3 separate regions of the Homo sapiens genome follow, and all the other regions are linked to region 1. The links are contacts of gene promoters, found by promoter capture Hi-C in human tissues and cell types (Jung and others, 2019). All regions are on one chromosome and are shown on one strand. Each heading gives the region's core, a stretch centred on a gene start or on the middle of the fragment in contact. The rest is flanking DNA. Distances are from core to core; before and after follow the strand shown. Region 1 holds the start of BBC3 (BCL2 binding component 3). Region 2 overlaps PLA2G4C (phospholipase A2 group IVC). Region 3 holds the start of PTGIR (prostaglandin I2 receptor).

Region 1 (4,164 bases), core at 984-3,483:
TCTCGGACATCACTACTCAGTACACACAATACACACACACCCCCGACCAAAGCAGGAGCATCCAGACAGACCATCACAAGCACTCTACATACTGCGCACACTGGCTGGCACAATCCATCCCCACACATCCAAACTGTCAAAGTCTCACACACTGACCCACTGTTGATATGCCCAGGGGCACATGCAAACACAATGCAGCCTTTGCAAACACAAACACACACACACAAGCTAGGCACTGCCTCAGTTCCCAAACATGCCCCTCTCCACACACACACACTCACTCCAGAGATAAGACCTGCACACCTCTGGACTCACATATCAACACAAAACAGACACCCACGGACACACATACATCAACACCCCCAAAACACACCCACATGTCACCAACTCTCAGGACACACGTAGATCAGGCACACACAGACACATGCCATCAGACCTCAACACACCACCAGACACCAACCCACCCTCCTCACGCAACCCTCAAACATCATCACCAACTGTCAGCAACACACACACACACACACCCTACAGCTAACTCTAATCCCACACAGCCCAGCAGCACACACACCTAGCGCACCCACAGAAAACACTGGTCTCACGTGACTGACATAAACACTACACACACGCAGCCCACATGACACACATGAGCCAGCCGATCACAGTGACAAGCCCCTCAGACCCAACACACACACACACACACAGGCTCAGACACAACCCCATCCAGAGGCTGCCAGCAACACCCACCGTCTACACTGCATAGACCCCACAGATCCTGGGTCCTCAAATCCCAGACGCTGATGCCAGACACACAAGCCAAACCCAGACTGAAACAACCCCCCACCACACACATACATACACACACACACTCACACCTGACAACTCACACAGACACCTGGACAGAAAACAGACATTTGCATTTAGCAGGCGCAGCATCACAAACGCTGGGCAAAAGACACATGCCCCGGAGATACAGAGACGGCCTCAGCCAAGACAGAAACACACAGGCAAGACACAAGCACACATATCGCACGCTCGGGCAAGACACACACATAAACACACAAACAGCTCACTCCAGCAACACACACACACTACAACCTCCACACCCCAGCACACGCAGGCACCACAGACCCCCAGTATCATCCCGGAACAGCACACACAGACAACTCTCACCGACAACACACGCAGGTCCACCCACCCCACAAGCAGGGCACCCACAGACAGAACCCCACACAAACAGGCGCGGGGACTCACGCAGACACCCCGACGGGTCAGAAACCCCAACATTCCTCTGGATCGACACCACCACTCCCTGCAGAACCCAGCACAAACTCGGAGCCAGACACGCGCACACACCCAGGCGAGACACCTGCAGATCCACAACCCCGCACACGCGCGCTCCCACGGCGGTCCCAGACACCCCCCTCCGCTGTCACAGCCCCCCCCACCGCCGCCACGTGCGCCCGCCCCGCCCGCCAGGCGAGCGCGGGGCCAATAACCGGCTGTTGCTGGGGCGCAGCCCCCGCCCGCAGGAGCCGCAGACTCCACGGCCCGCGAGCCGCCCCCCGTCGCCGCCCCCAGCGGGCGCGCGCCCTGGGTGTGGCCGCCCCTCCGTGCCGCCCCCCCGCCCCTCCCGGACTTTGGGGGCTGGGGCACCCCTGGGGTCGACCCTCTTCCCCGGGGCCGCACTGGCCGCCAGGGGGCGCTGCCGAGCCCGCACCCCATTGTTTGTAAACAAACCCGCCAGACCGCCGAGGCACCTGTGCGCCCAGACCGGCGCCCCAACGCCGAGCCGCCTCTCACCCGGCGACCCTGGCCCAGGGTCCCTCGCGGGGTTTGGAGAGGCGCGGTGTGGGGAGGCAGGGCGCCCACACTGCTCTCCGCCTGCACTCCTGTCACCTCCTCCAGGGAGTCCACCCGGCCTGGCCGATCGCCGCCGGAGAGGATTCGGGGCGCGCACACTCACCCCGGGGGCATGAACACGCCGGAGGGGGCGGCGGTGGGGGGCGGGCGGCTTCCTTCAGGAGGGCGCGCCCGCCGAGCGCCGCTCTCCGCGGCGGCTGCTGCTGTGGCTGTCGCTGCTGCTGCCGCTCTAACTGCAGTGGCGGCTGCTGTGGCTGTGGCTGCTGCTGCTCCCCGGGCCGCAGGCGCGTCCGCGTCGTGGCCGCTGCTGGGATCGCTGGTGCCGCCGCCGCCGCCGCCAGGCGCCCGCTCGCATGTGGCTCGCGCCGCGTCTCAGGCCGCCCGGCGGATCCCGGGCCCGCTCCAAAGCCGCCCCGCCCCGCCCCGCCCCGCCCCCGCCCGGCGGGTCCCACGCCCCGCCCCCGCGTGACGCTACGGCCCCGCCCGCCCGCCGCGGACAAGTCAGGACTTGCAGGCGCGCGCCGCGCCCCCCCCTACCTCCGCGCCGGGGGTTTCCCTGCAGCGGGGGACGGGGCAGGGCCTAGCCCAAGGCAAGGAGGACCCAGGCGCTGTGCGGCGGGGTGTGGGGAGATCGCCCAGACACCGGGACAGTCGGACACACACACTGACTGGGACCCACAGATCCACACCCCCAGCGATGCGTACACAGACCGACCGACGGGCGTTCCAGGGTCCACAAAGTCACGTGCAGGCAGAGCCCAGAGGATGTACTCACAGACACAAGGCCACAGTCTCGCAAATCCACACCATGGACAGGGGCATGAGCACACACACTCACATACTGATGGGGCTCACACTTACACACACCCAGACGGAAATGCACAGACTCACTAACAGGGTCCCCTGGACAAGCAGACGGACACAATGACAGGGCCACACACAGTTGCAGAAACACCCACACTGATGATCACACCTGGGCCCACAAACTGTGTTCACAAACAACCCTACCGAACAGGCACCCACACCACACACACGGTGGTGCAACCACACAGACATAGGCGGAGTGCTTATCAGGAAACACAAACTTGCTGATAGGCACAGGGGACACACACATACACACAGACACCTGTTACAGGGATACCTGGATACACGGCCAAATCCAAATCACACTCCCACAGGGACATACACAAATGCACTCACACAATTTCACAGCTAACACATTAAAACTATCAGAAAGTGACATTCGCCCGACACGGTGGCTCATGCCTGTAATCCCAGCACTTTGGGAGGCCAAGGTGCGTGGACTGCCTGAGGTCAGGAATTCGAGACCAGCCTGACCAACATGATGAAACCCCATCTCTACTAAAAATACAAAATTAGCCGGGCGTTGTGGCGCATGCCTGTAATCCCAGCTACTTGGGAGGCTGAGGCAGGAGAACTGCTTGAACCCGGGAGGCGGAGGTTGCAGTGAGCCGAGATAGTGCCATTGCACTCTAGCCTGGGCAACAAGAGCAAACTCCGTCTTAAAAATAAAAATAAAGGAAAGAAACTGACATTCAGAGACACAAACCAAATCAGACATAGAAGAAACTGACCACCCACACATGTCACAAAGTCACACCTGTGACAGCTTCTTGCTAACTGGCCCACTGCACACACGTCGGAGCATGCACACCTGGCCACACTCACCACAAATCTGGCAGGGGACCCACGTCGTGGAAGCAGCCCTGGGCACCTGGCATGGACATGCCTGGGCAGACCCCATGCCAAATTTCATCCTGTCTCATAGCTTTCCATTCCGTTTCTTTTTCAGTTTCTCATTGTTACTTCCTGCCCTGCTCTGGTTTGGTGAGTTTTGTCCTTCCTTTTTCCAAAGCCGTGGATTCCTGTCTCCTCTACACTTTCCATCCTTACTGGGTCTCACCCAATCGCAATCGCCTCACCAGAGTGACTCACCTTCCAGTGCCTAGTGTGGGGCTGGCTGAGTAAGGATGTCAGACTTCTCAAACTTGACTGCCTCCAAGTACACACTCTTAGCTCCCCCAAGAGATGCAGGTAATCTATATCTCACGTGAAATCTCCCCATTTGCAACATTGGGAACTCCTCAGCTTTCCTCCCTCTTTCACTTTCCCTCCTCTTTCGCTTTCCCCGATTATTCATTGTCCCTTCCTTCTTCCTGGTGTTTTCCAAACTGTGGGTCATGAGTAAACCATGGATTATGACATATGACATCACTTACATGGATCTTACTTTTTTTTTTTTTTTTGAGACAGAGTCTCGCGCTGTCGCCCAGGCTGGAGTTC
Region 2 (4,164 bases), core at 1,140-3,639, 870 kb after region 1:
CACTCCAGCCTGGGTGACAGAGCAAGACCCTGTCTCAAAAATAAAATGAAATAAAATAAAATAGTGAATTCAAGACATCAAATGGCCAAGCAGAGATGGAGAGGAAAGTTGTCTTGGGTCTGACACTTTCCCTATTTCTGCCTTATTCCATCATAAGTCCTCATTGTTCTTCTTGCCCTGGATGTCTGTGTATCTTTCTAGTAAATCATATCACTTTATTTGTTGCATAAACGAATCAGAGTCAATTTCTGTCACTTGCAACCACAGTAATCCTGATATACTTTAGTTTTGAGGCATCAACCGAAGTGCCCAGATTTTGATGACTTGAAAATCCTGAAGGACTTAAAAGGTGGTGCTGGTCAGCATCTTTGGTAACCCCACACCCTGAGACCCCTTGCTCCTACCCCCACCCCAGGTCCCCAGCTGGGAATGACTTACTTCTCTGGTTTGCTTAGAGATAACCATGTAGGCCCAGAAGTCGGTCAGAGAGTAATTCTCAGACCTCGCTGCTTGGATGGTTTTCTGTAGGCTCTTAGCCAAGTCCCACTCCTGTCGGGTAAATCGATGTTTCAGGTCAGCCTCGAGAGCTTCCATGTCACCATCATTGGTGTAGAGAGAAGATATTGCCCTGGAGGACAGAGGAAGAGAGTGAGTTGGGCATTTTAAGTGTGGACGATGAAGACTGGGGAAAGATGTGTGCAAGGAGGTCCTTCACAGGAACACCTGCCTCATGGAGAGGGCGACACACAGAGGAAACGGAAAATTTCCATTAAATAAATACAACTGCAGAACGATCAAGTTCGAAGGAGGACTCAAAATCATCTGGGACAATCCTTCCATTTCACAGGCAGGAAAATGAGAGCACGATGGGAGAAAGGCCTCATCAGAGTCAAATGTTTTTTGCAGCCAGCACTTATTAAAAGGTTTATATGTGACAGCAACAAACTGTCTTTAGTCTTTTATACCTATTAACTCACATAATCCTAGAAAATCAATGAACGGGGCCAGGTGTGGTGGTTCATGCATGTAATCCCAGCACTTTGGGAGGACGAGGCGGGAGGATTGCCTGAGGTCAGGAGTTCGAGACCAGCCTGGCCAACATGGTGAAACCCCGTCTCCACTAAAAATACAGAAAAATTAGCCAGGCGTGGTGGCATGCGTGGTGGTGGGTACCTCTAGTGCCGGATACTCAGGAAACCCTGTCTCTACTAAAAACACAAAAATTAGCCAGGCATGGTGGCACACGCCTGTGGTCCCAGCTGCTCAGGAGGCTGAAGCAGAGGAATCGCTTGAACCCGGGAGGTGGAGGTTGCAGTGAGCTGAGATTGTGCCACTGCACTCCAGCCTGGGCGACAGAGCGTGACTCCATCTAAAAAAAAAAAAAAAAAAAAAAAAAGCTGGGCGTGGTGGCTTACGCCTGTGATCCTAGCACTTTGGGAGGCCAAGGTGTGCGGATCACGAGGTCAGGAGATCGAGACCATCCTGGCTAACATGGTGAAACCCCGTCTCTACTAAAAATACAAAAAATTAGCTGGGTGTGGTTGCAGACCCAGCTACTATAGTCCTAGCTACTCGAGAGGCTGAGGCAGGAGAATGGCGTGAACCCGGGAGGCTGAGCTTGCAGTGAGCCGAGATCGCGCCACTGCACTCCAGCCTGGGCAACAGAGCAAGACTCTATCTCAAAAAGAAAAAAAAAAAGAAAAAAAAGACTTTATATTCATTTGTTCACTCAATAAATATATATTATATATATTAATTTATAAAGAAAAGAGGTTTATTTAGCTCACAGTTCTGCAGGCTGTACAAGAAGCATGGTGCAAAAAGCTTCTACTCATGGCAGAAGGCAAGGGAGCTGGTGTGTCACATAGAGTCTATATATATATATATATATATATTTTTTTTTTTTTTTTTGAGACAGGTCTTGCTCTGTTGCCCAGACTAGAGTGCAGTGGCATGATCTTGGCTCACTGCAGTCTCAAACCCCCAGGCTCAAATGATCCTCCCACCTCAGCCTCCCAAGTAGCTGGGACCACTACCCACCAGGTGCATCACCATGCCCTGCTCATTTTTAAATTTATTTTCTGTAGAGATGGAGTCTCACTATGTTGCCCACGCTGGTCTCAAACTTGTGGCCTGAAGCAATCCTCCCACCTCAGCTTCCCAAAATGCTGGGATTATAGGTGTGAGCCACCGTGCCCGGGCTCAATAAAAATTTTTGATGTTCTTAATGCTGCTTATCGGGTGCTATCTACCCTCACACCATCCAATGTATTAAACATACATCATAGCTCTTGAGCCCCTGAAGTGTGGCTAGCATGATTTAAAATATTTATTTCATTTTAATTAGCTTAAATTTAAACACTGGTACTCCATTCAGTTATTGGGAAACTCTGAAGTATGTTTGGAACAAGCTGGGTATGAAAAGTTCTTTCCTTTAATATCTTTTTTTTTTTTTTTTTGAGATGGAGTTTCACTCTTGTCACCCAGGCTGAAGTACAGTGGTTCGAGCTCGGCTCACTGCAACCTCTGCCTCCCGGATTCAAGTGATTCTCCTTCCTCAGCCTCCCAAGTAGCTGGGATTACAGGTGCGTGCCACCACACCCAGCTAATTTTTGTATTTTTAGTAGAGACAGGGTTTCACCGTGTTGGCCAGGCTGGTCTCAAACTCCTGACCTCAGGTGATCCACCTGCCTCGGCCTCTTGAAGTGCTGGGATTACAGGTGTGAGCCACTGCCCCGGGCCTCCTTTAACATCTAATGAGACTTCTGCATCCAACTTGGAATGCGCTCAGTATAAAACGCCCAGCAGCTTTCAAAGACCTAGTCTGACAAAAGGAATGTCAAATATCTCATTAACAATTTTTTTCTTAACGATGTGTCAAAATGCTAATGTTTTGGATATATTGGGTTAAAGAAAATGGATCATTTCACTGTTTCTTTTTACCTTCTTGAAGAGGCTACTAGAAAATTTAAAATGGGCCGGACATGGTGGCTTACACCTGTAATTCCAGCACTTTGGGAAGCCAGGGCAGGCAGATCACCTGAGGTCAGAAGTTTGAGACCAGCCTGGCCAACACGGGGAAACTCCGTCTCTACTAAAAATACAAAAATTAGCTGGGCATGGTGGCACGCGTCTGTAATCCCAGCTAACTGGGAGGCTGAGGCAGGAGAATCACTTGAACCTGGGAAGTAGAGGTTGCAATGAGCCAAGATCGCGCCACTGCACTCCAGCCTGGGCGACAAGAGCAAGACTGTGTCTCCAGAAGAAAAAAAGAAAAGAAAAGAAAGAAAGAAAATTTAAAATGATAGAATAGATGTGGCTCATGTTACATAGCTCTACTTGATAGCTCAGGTTGGGACGATTTGCATGTGTTTCATCATTTAATTCTCAAACAGCCCTGTGAGATCAGCACAGTTTGTTGCTGTCACATGTAAACCTTTAATAAATGCTGGCTGCAAAAAACATTTGACTCTGATGAGGCCTTTCTCCCATCGTGCTCTCATTTTCCTGCCTGTGAAATGGAAGGACTGTCCCAGATGATTTTGAGTGCTCCTTTGAACTTGACCGTTCTGCAGTTATATTTATTTCATGTAAATTTTCCATTTCCTCTGTGTGTCGCCCTCTCCATGAGGCAGGCGTTCCTGTGAAGGACCTCCTCACACACATCCTTTCCCAGTCTTCATCGTCCACACTTACAATGCTCAACAGCGGAGGAAACCAAGGCACAAAGAAGTATGTCTGGGCTCGTAACAGCCCACAAAGGACAGCTCCAGGAACTAACCCAAAGCTGTTGAAATATAAGGCTTTCGTTGTTGTTGTTTGTAGAGATGGGGTCTTGCTATGTTGCCCAGGCTGGTCTTGAACTCCTGGGCTCAAGAGATCCTCCCACCTCGACCTCCCAAAGTACTGGGATTACAGGTGTGAGTCCCTGTGTCCAGCCAGGCCTGCCTTTTTAACCACAGCAGTCTCGGAAAGATTCCAGAAGAAATCATGGGGTTCCTATCTCAATAGCGCCCCCTGGAGTTCTGCAATGTGCAGTACAGCTAAACCCCCACGCCATGTCACTCAACATGTTAGATGAGCCTTGGAGGAATAGAGGGGTCCGGTGTGACTCTGCAGGACCTTTCCCACTCCCAAGCTCTGCAGCTCTGCTCTTCATGCTGT
Region 3 (4,164 bases), core at 534-3,033, 610 kb before region 1:
CCTTTCTACATGCTGGGATTACAGGCGTGAGCCACCATGCCCACGATGTCTCACCTCTTTTGAGCCTCAGTCTCCCCATCTGTGACATGGGCACAACCCACAGAGCTGCCCTCCTCCTCTCCCCACTCCTCCCAGCTCCGGAGGGGACTCACCGTGAGAGGCAGGGAGCACACGGCCATGACCACTGTCATGAGGGCCAGCAGGATCAGGTGGTCCACCTCGTCCTCTCCGGTGCGCGGCCGTGGACCCAGAGAGCCCTGGTGGCGCTTCTGCTGGCGGTACATGCGGCAGAGGCTGAGGGTGACCGAGCCGTTGCAGAGGAAGATGGCAGCCACCAGCAGGGCCACCAGGCCGGCGTAGGCCAGCGAGAAGGCGGCGCCGCCCGGCTGGGCCCAGCGCATGCGGAGGAAGCACCAGCTGCCGGGGCAGTACTGCTGGTGTTGGCCCAGGCCCAGCAGGGGCAGCGCGCAGAAGAGGACGCAGAAGGCGTAGATGGCTGGCAGCGCCAGGCGGGCGCAGCGGGGCCCGTCCAGCTGCGCGTAGAGGTAGGGGTGGCTCAGCGCCAGGCAGCGCTCCACGGCCATGGCAAAGAGGATGAGCATGGACGCCAGGCCGAAGAAGGTCATGGCGAAGGCGAAGGCATCGCACAGGGCGGGGCCGCCTCGGGCCAGGCCCAGCAGGGAGCTGTTGCGCGCATAGGCCACGAACACGGCCGGGCTCAGGAAGCTGGTGCCCAGCAGGTCGGTGGCCGCCAGTCCGGTCACCAGCACCGCGAAGGCCGAGGGGCGCGCCGGTCGCCGTGCGCTCAGGATGCCCAGGGCCAGCCCGTTGCCCACCACACCGGCCACGAACATCAGGGTGCTGGTGGCCGGCCCCACCGAGCCCCGCACGTAGGTGAGGTTCCTGCACGAATCCGCCATCCCAGGTCTGGGCTGGAGGGTTCCCAAGGTGGGGGGTCAGAGGGAGCCAGGGCTACCCCCACCACCCAGCCCACTCAGATGTCCCTGCTGGCCAGTCCTTTTGGCAGCTGGGGCCTCCCAGCCAACCCCCAGTTCTCCTGTGTGTGCGGGTATGCAGTCCTCTCCCCTCTGGCTTCTCCAGTATCTCTCTCTGTCTCTCCCCACCTTCCTGTTTCTCTTTCTCTCTTTCTTTTCTTTCGTTTCTTTTGAGACAGAGTCTCACTCTGTTGTCCAGGATGGAGAGCAATGGCATGATCTCGGCTCACTGCAACCTCCACCTCCTGGGTTCAAGCGATTCTCCTGCCCCAGCCTCTGGAGTAGATGAGATTACAGGCGTCCACTACCACGCCCAGCTAATTTTTGTATTTTCAGTAGAGACGGGGTTCCACCATGTTGGTCAGGCTGGTCTCGAACTCCTGACCTCAGGTGATCCATCCACCTTGGCTTCCCAAAGTGCTGAGATTACAGGTGTGAGCCACCATGCCTGACACCCACCACCCCCCCACCACCTCCTGTTTCTTTCCTTCTCTAGCTCTGTTTCTGCCATTAAAGAGACAGAGAACATCCGGGCATTGCCAGTTCTTTCCCTCCCTGTCTCTCGGTCTCTTGCTGATATCTCCCTGTCTCTGTCCCCTCCCTTGTCCTTGTCCTCCCCGTACCTTTCTCCCTCTAACCCCACACCCTCTACCTGCTCCTGCTCTGTGTTGCTGCATCCCCAGCCCCTCACCGCACCTCTCCAGTCTTGCCCAGGCTCTCCTGTCCCGTGCGTCTGTGCCTTCACTTGCTTTGCTCCTCGTGTCTCTCGCTGCCTGTGTCGGTCTGTGTGTCAGCTTCTCCTTCCCTCCTCCCTCCGTCCCTCCCTCCTTCCCACCCTCCTCAGCTTGCCTGCTCACCCCAGCTTTTTCATTTCCTCTCTCTGCCCCGCCCTCCCTCACTGTTCTCCAGAGGGCCCCCTGGCACACTCCCCACTCCCCGTCCACCCGCCCAATCCAGGACATCCATCTCCCATCGCTGCCTCCACTCTCCTCCCCACATCCTCTCTTGGTTCCCATCACTGAGCCACCTGCCACCTCCCCACACACAGGTCTCCTCCCTCCCCCAGTGTCTCCCTCTCTGGCCTGGGTGGGGAATTCCTGAGTCACCATCACTTAGGCTTGGAGCCTCCCGGGGTAGTAGGGGGCCTCTAGGAGGGACCTGAAGAGCACAGTTGACCAGGCTTCAGTGGGGTGGTCTTGGCCTGGGCTGTCTCAGGGTGGCCTCTGGGATCTATTCTGGGCTCCAGGCCCCGGGGCTGAGGACATTGCCCAGGGATTGAGAAATGACCAGGAAATTCCTCTCTGATGTAGTGTTTTCCAGACACCACTGAGAGTTCTGGTCCCTGGACACAATTCACTCCTTCCAGAAAGCTGAGGAAGGAGGCTTGGCCAGAGAGAGACATGCCAGTCCCTCGAGCCTGTCCCTGGGCACCCAGCTCACCCTGCAGAGACCCGAGAAGAAAGCATGAAGGGGTGTATTTGGTGTCCAGTTGTCAGGGACAGGCTTGGGAGACTTCCATGGCCCATGATGGAAAGGTAGCACTGGGCCACCGTCCGACTTCTCGCACAGCACCCCTAGGCCCCAGGCCAAGCTCTGGTGACCTTGACCTTCAGGAATCATATTTTGATCACAGGAAGCTGTCCACAGCTCCAACATTGCTGCCATGTGTCCCCCACCCTCCCCAAACACAGCCAAGCCACCACCGCTGCAGCCTCGGGCCAGTGTGACAGACCCACATGTTCCCGCTACCCGCACAGCGTTCACGGGTCTCCCTTCCCACGGAGTCGGTGGCTTCCCAGGCAGCCTCCCAGCCCAAAAGGGCCAGATAAAACCTCAGAGACCCTCTCTGAGCCCCGCTGTTTCTCAGGGGGACGGTCTCAGATCCATTCGACTTGGCTTCCTGTTTCCATCTGACCACCTTTTTTCTTGCTGCGAGATGGTCCCAGGTGAGGAGAGGGAGCTGGTAGACTTCAGCCTCCTTCTCTGTGCGTGGGGTAACACGGGCCTCAGGGACCTGGTGGCCAGCCTCGGCCTGCAGCACATCCCAGATTGGTCTTTGTAACAAGGAGAGAGGCTGTGCGGGTGTCTCTTGTCCAAGGCCAGGAGGGATGTGTCCAACCCAAGGACTGGACTGTGGGCAGCTGCCGTCTTGCCCTCTGTACCCCGGTGTGTGACCACAACCCCTTTGCCCCTCCCCCCCATCTCCCTATCACCCTTGCCCAGCTGGCACCCGCAGCTTCCAGCAGGATGGACGCCCAAGTTCCAGCCCCACCGTGGCTCCCTAAGGGACCCCCCAGCCCTGCTCTGGGGGTGCCTGTACATGTGGGCTCCAGGTCCTGCCACGTTGTCCCGCCTCATGCCGTGAGGTCCCCAGACAGACCAGAGGGAACTCAGGAAGTTATATCATATTAATGAAGGATGATGCCTGGCAGGCGTGCATCTTGTTTCGGCATCGGGGGGGCCTCTGGTTCCCGGAGACTCCCTCTCTCGCTTCCTGTTACAAGGACGGTTAACATTCAGGAAGTCCCCTCTGCTCCCATGCCCAGTGGGACCACAGTCAAACCCTTGTCCCTTCCAGGCCTCAGTTTCTTTTTTGTTGTTGTTTTTCTTTTTGCTTGTTTGTTTTTGTTTTGAGATGGAATCTTGCTCTGTCACCCAGGCTGGAGTACACTGGCATGATCTCAGCTCACTGCAACCTCCGCCTCCCGGGTTCAAGCGACTCTCGTGCCTCAGCCTCCCGAGTAGCTGGGATTACAGGCATGTGCCACTGCGCCCAATTTTTATATTTTTAGTAGAGGTGGGGTTTCACCATGTTGGCCAGGCTGGTCTTGAACGCCTGACCTCAGGTGATCCGCCCGCCTCGGCCTCCCATAGTGCTGGGATTACAGGCGTGAACCACCTTGCCTGGCTGTTCGTTTGTTTTTGAGACAGGGTCTTGCTCTGTCACCCAGGCTGGAGTGTAGTGCTGCAATCTCGGTTCACTGCAACCTCTACCTCTGGGGTTCAAGCGATCCTCCCACCTCAGCCTCCTGAGTAGCTGGGACTACAGGCACCCACTGCCACGCTAGCTAATTTTTGTATTTTTGTAAAGACAGGGTTTCACTGTGTCACCCAGGCTGGTCTCAAACTCCTGGACTCAAGTGATCTGCCTACCTCGGCTTCCCAAAGT

Evidence for each region. Contacts are between HindIII fragments. The study calls those that stand out against the background at their distance.
Region 2: a fragment that was not itself captured here is called in contact with the fragment with the promoter of BBC3 in region 1 in 1 of the 25 tissues and cell types used here (aorta).
Region 3: a contact is called between the fragment with the promoter of PTGIR here and the fragment with the promoter of BBC3 in region 1, in 1 of the 25 tissues and cell types used here (adrenal gland).

Annotation. Positions count from the first base shown.
Region 1 is chr19:47,228,966-47,233,129 of GRCh38, forward strand. It overlaps BBC3 (BCL2 binding component 3), which reads right to left and starts at 2,234. Exons shown (of 4, transcript NM_014417.5): 1 at 1,964-2,234. RefSeq lists silencers at 1,392-2,111, 2,252-2,481 and enhancers at 2,622-2,741, 3,451-4,074, 3,501-3,770. The HindIII fragment of the contact is 48,720 bases long and covers 1-4,164 here.
Region 2 is chr19:48,099,233-48,103,396 of GRCh38, forward strand. It overlaps PLA2G4C (phospholipase A2 group IVC), which reads right to left. Exons shown (of 17, transcript NM_003706.3): 5 at 439-628. Among named protein-coding and RNA genes, the nearest start is that of PLA2G4C, 9.5 kb to the right of the region's middle. The HindIII fragment of the contact is 8,459 bases long and covers 1-4,164 here.
Region 3 is chr19:46,623,306-46,627,469 of GRCh38, forward strand. PTGIR (prostaglandin I2 receptor) reads right to left here and starts at 1,784. Exons shown (of 3, transcript NM_000960.4): 1 at 1,692-1,784; 2 at 153-932. The coding sequence starts at 920. RefSeq lists an enhancer at 1,999-2,499. The HindIII fragment of the contact is 28,599 bases long and covers 1-4,164 here.